3 separate regions of the Homo sapiens genome follow, and regions 2 and 3 are each linked to region 1. Evidence: promoter capture Hi-C in human tissues and cell types (Jung and others, 2019). All regions are on one chromosome and are shown on one strand. The core of a region is centred on a gene start or on the middle of the fragment in contact, and the rest is flanking DNA. Distances in the headings are between cores, read along the strand shown. Region 1 holds the start of SOAT1 (sterol O-acyltransferase 1). Region 2 overlaps ABL2 (ABL proto-oncogene 2, non-receptor tyrosine kinase). Region 3 overlaps ABL2 (ABL proto-oncogene 2, non-receptor tyrosine kinase).

What was found. Contacts are between HindIII fragments. The study calls those that stand out against the background at their distance.
Region 2: a contact is called between a fragment that was not itself captured here and the fragment with the promoter of SOAT1 in region 1, in 6 of the 25 tissues and cell types used here (H1 embryonic stem cells, IMR-90 fibroblasts, aorta and 3 more).
Region 3: a fragment that was not itself captured here is called in contact with the fragment with the promoter of SOAT1 in region 1 in 2 of the 25 tissues and cell types used here (adrenal gland and aorta).

What each region holds. Positions count from the first base shown.
Region 1 is chr1:179,292,362-179,295,231 of GRCh38, reverse strand. It overlaps SOAT1 (sterol O-acyltransferase 1), which reads right to left and starts at 1,435. Exons shown (of 16, transcript NM_003101.6): 1 at 1,296-1,435. RefSeq lists an enhancer at 731-1,238 and a silencer at 1,451-1,640. The HindIII fragment of the contact is 6,238 bases long and covers 1-2,525 here.
Region 2 is chr1:179,179,731-179,182,600 of GRCh38, reverse strand. All of the region lies in intron 1 of ABL2 (ABL proto-oncogene 2, non-receptor tyrosine kinase), which reads left to right. Among named protein-coding and RNA genes, the nearest start is that of ABL2, 49 kb to the left of the region's middle. The HindIII fragment of the contact is 8,582 bases long and covers 1-2,870 here.
Region 3 is chr1:179,218,872-179,221,741 of GRCh38, reverse strand. The region is part of intron 1 of ABL2 (ABL proto-oncogene 2, non-receptor tyrosine kinase); the gene reads left to right. It also overlaps the pseudogene LOC100499223. Among named protein-coding and RNA genes, the nearest start is that of ABL2, 9.4 kb to the left of the region's middle. The HindIII fragment of the contact is 5,519 bases long and covers 1-2,870 here.

The DNA.
Region 1 (2,870 bases), core at 186-2,685:
TCCAGTAACAAAAATAAAGCCAGTGTGGCATGAACCTGGAAAGCCAGAAGGAAAGTGGGCCAAATGAACCAGAGATAGAGTGTGCTCACTCAGTAGGTCTTTATCCTAAAAGACTGCGAAACCTCAGATGCATTCTAAGCATGTGATTCACTAAAACACGTGCATTTCTAAACGATAATTCAGTGCCACAGAGCTCCTTCCAAAACCCATTCTCACACCCAGACAACGCACAGACTTCCTTAACAAGTCATTCACTGACACCGCCCAACTTTTAAAAAGAAAAAAAAAAAGCTTCAAATTGAATTCTACTTCAAGGAAGAGGAAATCAAGCAGGCTGAAAAAAAGAAAAAAGTGGTTTAAACAGGTGGCAGCCACTTAAATATTAAAAAGTGACCAACAGGCCAGGCGCGGTGGCTCACGCCTGTAATCCCAGCACTTTGGGAGGCCGAAGCGGGCGGATCACTTGAGGTCAGGAGTTTGAGACCAACCTGGTCCAACATGGTGAAACCCCGTCTCTACTAAAACTACAAAAATTACCTGGGCGTGGTGGCGCACGCCTGTAATCCCAGCTACTCAGGAGGCTGAGGCACAAGAATCGCTTGAACCCGGGAGGCAGAGGTTGCAGTGAGCCGAGATTGCGCCACTGCACTCCAGCCTTGCGACACAGCGAGACTCCGTCTCAAACAAACAAAAGTGACCAACGAACTTAACCTAAATATATATACGGAGAATAAAGTTTATATAGTTGTTTCTCACTTAGAAATAACCTTTCAATATACATATTATTTAAATTACATGACCATTAACACTTAGGGAAAACAGAAACTTACCTACATCCTAATATTTTACAATAAAACATGAGCTTGATTAAAGGTTCTGGTGCCCCTACAGATTTTCATGTCTTGCTAATACCATCCTTCCCTTCACACATTTTCTCTAAATCATTAAAAAGCTGACTTCCTGAGTGCATTTTTGGTTTCGCTTTTTAAAGAATAAAACGTCTTCTAATTCCTAACTTTCTTTACTACTGACTTGAGAGATGCCACGAGATTTGCGGAACACCAAACCAGCGTGCAGGGTTTAAAAGGCTGCCCGTGACCCGGGCGCCTGACGGTAACTTTCCCGCCCTCCCCTCCCCAACTCCCCTGCAGTCGCCGAGCCTCGCCTTCTCCGCAGCACAGCCCAGGACAAGGCCGGGCCGGAGCTGCTGCCGCCACCGCTTCTCCCTTCCCCGCGGGCTGAGGCCGGTGGACCCAAGCGGGAAGCGAGGAGAGGCGCGGGAGCACCACCGTTACCTGAGGCCCGCGCCCGGCAGCGGGCACTTCGGCCAAGAGGGCAGAGCCGGGAAGCGGTCACAGAGCAGCCAGCAGGAAGGTCGACTCCGGGAAGCTCTCCTGGCGCCCAGGGCCCGCAACGTCGCCTGCTAAGCTAAAGCGCCGGACAGCCCGGCCCCTACGCCCCCTGCCTCCGAGCACCGCTGCGTCACGCGCAGGGCCACCTCCGGCTGAGCATCCTATTGGTGGTCCCCAGGTTGCCAGGCTCCGCCCACCTCCCCGCCCCTTCCCGGGCGCGCGGGTCCCCGGCGCCAGTGCTCGCAGGCTGGCCCTGGCAACCTGCCAAGGAAGCTTCTCACCCGGACATCATGATACCGGCGACAACATCTTGCTTGACACTTCCACCCCAGCAGTAGAATGTGCAGCCAAAACGGGACTGCGACAACTCCCTGCAAGCCCGAAACGGCACCCTGCGTGGTAGCATGGAGCTGCAGGGGCGTTTGGCTCCTAGGCCGACTGGAAGAAGCCGCTTCTGGAGCTGTGGATCATTGCAGTTTGAACTGACCATCCAGGAACAACGTAGAACTAGCCAGAAGCAAGAATCGCTGGCTTATCTGCACACCAAGATTCGTGCCTTTATCAGGAGATTCCTTACCGTTTGAAAACCAGCGTCCTTCAGCAACATTCAAACTAGATAAGGGGAAAAAACCTGCACCAAATAATAAAACACACCAAATAATGGAACAACTAAGTAATATTTAAGGGCCCTTGAGGCCAGGTGCGGTGGCTCACGCCTGTAATCCCAACACTTTGGGAGACCGAGGTGGCTGGGTCACCTGAGGTTAGGATCGAGACCAGCCTGACCAACATGGTGAAACCCCGTCTCTACTAAATACAAAAAATTAGCCGGGCTTGGTGGCGCGCGCCTGTAATCCCAGCTATTCGGGAGGCTGAGGCAGGAGGATTGCTTGAACCCGGAAGCCAGAGGTTGCAGTGAGCCTAGATTGTGCCATTGCACTCCAGCCTGGGCAATAAGAGCTAAACTCCTTCTCAAAAAAAGTTTTAAAAATAAAATAAACAAAGGGCCCTCGTGACTTCATAATCAAAAGAAGAATGATGCAGAGAGATTTGGGACAGAGATTAAATACAACAGTTAATCGCTTGGAATTTGTGAAGGCAGAGGTGTACGTAAATTTAGGGTAAAGGTAGGTGAAAAGGCAATGATGAGAGGAGCAGAGACTGAAGAGTCGCACTCACAGCCTGCAAACTAATACCAGCTAGCCTGGCCTGACTAATCGCTTCTTCCCCACTCCTCCCCAGGACAAAAATCCCTGAACAAACAGATGAGGTTTAGCAGAACTGACTACTCTCTGGGTCCTTTAAACAAAGTGGATTTGTACACGTTCCCTTGGCCACCCAGCAGGCTGCACTGTTCACTCAAAGCAGAAATGGCCCTCAGCATCCAGTCGAGTTTAGTACTGGCTGTCATTGGCAGATCTGCTCCGTTTGGCCTCTTCTACAACTGTGATTGCCACGTGTGCTGACTAGTTGGTGACAGGGTCTGGTAGACCCCCAGCTGCTTCCCCTCCCCACTCC
Region 2 (2,870 bases), core at 258-2,757, 110 kb after region 1:
ATCATGTCTTTTTGTGGCAACGTGGATGGAACTGGAAGCCATTATCTTAAGTGAAACAGCTCAGAAACAGAAAGTCAAATATGCTGGAAGATCTTCTCTGATTACTTTAATTTTCTAAGCCAGGTCATTGGCTTAGTAAGAAAGGAAGCTATTAGGAGTTTGAAAAGAGAGGAGAGCATATAATTGTCTAGAAAGTGGGAAAGTGAATGGACTAGAGAAATACAGTATGATCACCAGGCAGTGTTAAGGGCTCATTTGAGGCTAAAGGTTCTGAGTTAAAAGTGAGGCCAGTCAGCTTGGTTTTGTGCTTTTTTTTCTCCAGCCACCTTCACTTTAGGAGTAGGAGAATAGTTGAATTTACCCAGCTTGTGGTTCTGCAAAGTGAGTATGTCCAAGTGAGAGAGGAGCAAGTGATTATAATGATGGACCATGGAACTTAAGCTGGTAAGGAGGGAAGAGAGGACTTCACAGGGTGAGAAACAGTGAAAAGATAGTTTGAAGATAGGCTGGGTGCGGTGGCTCACGCCTGTAATTCCCAGCACTTTGGGAGGCTGAGGCAGGCGGGTCATGAGGTCAGGAGATCAAGACCATCCTGGCCAACATGGTGAAACCCTGTCTCTACTAAAAATACAAAAAAAAAAAAAAAAAAAAAAATAGCCGGGCCTGGTGACACGTGACTATAGTCCCGGCTACTCAGGAGGTTGAGGCAGGATAATTGCTTGAACCTGGGAGGCAGAAGTTGCAGTGAGCCGAGATCATGCCATTGCATTCCAGCCGGGGCAATAGAGTGAGACTCTGTCTCAAAAATAAAAATAAAATAAAATAAAAATTAAAAAAAGATAGTTCAAAGATAGCGGTCAGTAGATGGGAGATCTGGTGGGGTCACAAGATTATATGAATTCGTGTATTAGAAAGAATGAGCTGGAAATATAAAACATGGTATTCAAAAAGAGTTGCATGAAATTGAGATTATTGACAGGGTGCATTAGAGTGTGCTGAGTTAGGGTTACATTTAGCTCTTTGCTTTTCACAGCAGCACCATGATATAGATAGTGTAAGCATCATTAAGCATGTTTCATAAATGAGAAAACTGAAGCTCAGCGAGGTTGGGCAGTTTTCCCAAGGTCACAAAGCTGCTGATAGGCTAGTTATTTAGGACTCAGATCCCATTACTCTGATTCTCAATACTCACTCCTCTACCATACTATATCAGTTTTCTGAAAGTTAGTAACTTATTTCCCTATCTTTGCACCTAGATTGCAATCTCAAGTTGAAACTTTTGACAAATATACATTACCAAAATTATTTTCCTCTTCAGAAATCTTCAGACTCTAATCTTAGGGCAATGTTGGAGGGGTTTACTGCCACTATTTTTACCTAGCTGATCTTATTGAAAACACACATATATTAGAGGCTTAAATATGATAGTTTTGTTTAAACTCCGTTTCATAATGGGGCTTAAGGTGGGTGGAAGATGGAACAAGAAGGAATGTACTGTTCTTTCAGCAGCATGCCTGGACAGACAGCTGTACTGTTAGAATGTGTCCAAATCCATGTGTGTTCTTTTTGGTGGCAGTTTGCACCATTGCAAGTCTAAAGGATAGTTGGTTATTGGATGTTGTCCATTTGGGATATGATTCTCTTCTTTCCCCCAATGAAATAATTATCACGCTTTTTGCATTTTTGCACATTTAGCTTTGTGGTAGGGGGCGGACTTGGAAGAATTCTTTAAATGTGAAGGAAGAATGGGGGAATTATTATTAAGTATACTCTGAACTGATCTTTATCATTTTAAATGACAGAATAGAAAAATGTTTCACCTAAATTTCAGATGGTTTTTTTCTTTTAAAAATTATTTTAAATTGTGATAAAATAAACACAACATAAAATTTACTTTGTTATCAGATGTTTTAATATCCTCTATTATTTTGTTGGTATAATGTTCTGTTTAAAATATGAATAGTTCCCTGGAGGTGACCCTTATGCACCTTGGCCACGGGAACTCTCTTTCTTCTCTGTTACTTTTCTGTTTCCTACCTGCTACTGGTACTGGACCTTTTTATTCCACTAGTGAAGTCTGATGATAGAACATGGGGGTAGAGAGGTGGTAGGCCTTAGCAGCAGAGTCTCATTCAGTATCTGTGAAACATGGGACATATCAGCTCCTTCCTCTCCTCTAGAACCTTCGTGGCAGCTCCTCAGAGGGAACGTATAAGAAAGCCTGAGTCAGGGTATATACAACTCTGATCTTATTGCTTCCTTGCTTACCAGCTTTTATTGATTTCTTACCATCTTCAGAGTGAGGTCCCAACTCCTTAACAGAGCATCCAAAGCTTTCATAATTTGGTGCATTCCCAATCTCATACATGCTCCTGAGGCTGTAGCCATACTAAAGTACAGGTGGGCCTGTAAATATAGCCTGTCCTTGGCATACAGTAGGTGGTCCAGAAGTATTTCCCCCCTTTTTTTTTTTGTTTTTTTAAGACAGGGTCTCACTCTGTCACCCAGGCTGGAGTGCAGTACCCAGGCTGGAGTGCATGGCTCACTGCAGCCTCAACCTCCCTAGGCTCAAGTGATCCTCCCACCTCAGCCTCCCAGGTAGCTTGGATGACAGGCGTGTGCCACCAACACCTGGCTAATTTTTTTTTTTTTTTGTATTTTTAGTAGAGACAGGGTTTCGCCATGTTGTGCAGGCTGGTCTTGAACCCCTGACCTCAAGTCATCCCCCTGCCTCGCCCTTCCAAAGTCCTGGGATTACAAGCATGAGCCACTATGCCCAGCCAAGACATATTTCTTGAATGAAAGAATATAGTATTAATATATATCACAGTTGTACTATTTTACATGCTAACTTGCTTTTATTCAGTGGC
Region 3 (2,870 bases), core at 100-2,599, 73 kb after region 1:
CTTCTCTGAGTGGTTTAAGTTTAAAAGATACTACACTAAATTGCCAGTATTGATGAACACATAAGTGTCTGTTGTCATGATGTAGTTGGCAATGGGGCAAAACTCAGTTACCCACCTGAATGCCATAATAGGTTGTTTTTGTTGTTTGTTTGAGACGGAGTCTTGCTCTGTCACCCAGGCTGGAGTGCAGTGGTGCGATCTTGGCTCACTGCAGCCTCCACCTCCTGGGCTCAAGCAATTCTTGTGCCTCAGCCTCCCAAGTAGCTGGGATTACAGGCACACGTCACCATGCCTGGCTAATTTTTGTATTTTCAGTACAGATGGGTTTTCACCATATTGGCCTGGCTGGTCTCAAACTCCTGGCCTCAAGTAATTCACCTGCCTTGACCTCCCAACGTGCTGGGACTACAAATGTGAGCCACTGTGCCTGGCCAGTTTTCAAGGTCAGGTTTTTGTATGTGTCTAAAAAATCTCGTTGGATTACATCACTATAAAGAAGATGTTAATCGTCCGAGGACAGTGCTAACAGTTTGTCTTCTCTTTTAGCCCGTTGGCCTACTAAGAAAAATGTGAGAACCTCATATCGCCATCAAGACTTTTTTCACCCCAAGTAACTCTAATGGCCTGTCTGGCTTTCACATCTGAGGGGTGGGAGGTCACTAGGATAACCAGAATTGGATTTTGATCAGAGCAGTTTGAATGCTCTCAAAATGTGAAGTGAAAGCCTCATCTGTAAATTGGCTCATACTTGTAAAAGTACATCCAGTCTACATATTCTGTCACATTGTAGTGGGGAAGGCTGAGAGGTACCACATCAGGAGGAGAGTCAGGAGTGGCAGCAGCAGGAGACCCCATGTGAGAGATCTCAGTGGGAAGGGCAGTCTGGAGAGCCAGGGCCATCCACAGCAGCTCAGAAGCTTGCGAACTGCAAGTTCTTCTTGATTGATTTCTTCTGAGTGAAAAGACCTTCAGTTTCACCAGTTGAACATTCAGCAGTATGTAGCTGTCAGAAATAATGCTACTGAAAACCAGACTTTCAGACTGGCTTAAAATCCTGCCATATACTGCTTATAAAACACATACCTGTAGAATTTCAGCAGAGATTAAAGCACTAGCTGAAGTTTGTTTTCTGTATTCCATGCTTTAGTCAAAACACTCAAGATTTGCTGTGAACTACTCCATAAACAGAAAAAAAGACATGGTTTGGTAATTTCTTCCTTGGTAGATTTTCCTGACAAAGTGACCATCGCCTAAACAAGGCACTGTCCTGTGCGGCACATACCCAGCTCACAAGTGGCAGGCAGCTGGTGCTCAACCTGCTTTAAACGGAAAACAAAAACCAAACAAGAAAAACCAGCATCTCCCCACCATTGTATGTTTTTATTCCTCTTTACTTCAGTCTCTTTCAAAATAGGGAATGATAATGTTTGTGTAGTTTTTAGAGCTTTTGAAGAAGACCTTTTATGTCTTTCATCTCACTTGACCTTTACAACTACTCTGAAATAGGTGAAGCAGGTATTAATCTTCCCATTTTGTAGATGAAGAGTTTAGAAAATTAAGTGACTTCTTGAGGTTACATAGCTGTTAAATGATAGAGCTGGGACTGATAGTTTTGTCTCCAAGTCTTGCCATAATGTGGAGATTTAGAGAATGTGGGTTTTAAAATCAGTTATAATTGGATATAAATCTTGCTTTGTGTCTGACATTGGTACATGGTTTATCCCTCACAACAGGTTGTTGAAATAATTAAGTGATAAAATTGTACGAGACTCTTAAGTGCCAGGCACTGTGGTGCTCAATAAATATCAGTTTTATTGTCATTATTTACCTCAAGATGATTGTGAAGATTATATGAGTTGTATGTGAAAATGTTTTGTAAACCTAAGCACTGCTATTGTTATCATTGTGATGGCATGCCAAAGTGTAGAATTGCCTTAGCATTTATATTTATTACTTCATTTTCTCTTCTTATTAAGCTACTCTTATTAGAGGACTTTCAGAAAGCAGTAAAAGGTAAGGGAATTTTGGGGATCTGAAATCACAGGAGAATCTGAAATCACTTTAGGTCTACCTTCCTTGTAAGGTAAGTGATATCCTCTCTAGACCATTTGTCTTTGTCTTAGGGACTGGGTATCAGTATATGTAGTGCCTGGTTCTTGTAGACATCTTTTTCTTCCATCAAAGAACTTGAACCAGAAACACTGGCCAATGCAAATTTAAAGTTGATAGAGACTTCATTCTAAGTTGGCCCATTTGTTTGCTGGTTAATAGTTAATGACTTTTTTAAATGACTTTGTTGTAACCTTCTTCATCTGACATCCTTTAAGACCTTTTTTTTTCTTCTTCTCTGTGTTATTTTTACCTCTGGATGTAAAGTTTCTTCTTAAAGGCTTGTTTAGGCCAGGCATGGTAGCTCACGTCTGTAATCCCAGCACTTTGGGAGGCCGAAGCAGGTGGATTGCTTTAAGCTCAGGAGTTCAAGACCAGCCTAGGCAACGTGGCGAAACCCTGTCTCTACAAAAAATAGAAAACCTAGCCAGGCGTGCTAGTGCACACATGTAGTCCCAGCTACTGGGGAGGCTAAGGTGAGAGGATCACTTGAGGCCAGGAGGTTGAGGCTGCAGTGAGCCATAATCACGTCGCTGCACTCCATTCTGGGCGACAGAATGAGACCCTGTCTCAAAAAGAAAACTTGTTTAGTGTGATTATCTTCTTGAAGTTGTGAGTCAGATGGGCTTTTTCTTAATGTGGCACTGCACATACAGAGATTTCAAAATACTTAAGAACCTTTTCCATGTTAACAGATGTCTTCTGGACGAGGTAAATATGTAGCTACTTCAAATCATATAGAACAGTTCTGAAACTTGAGC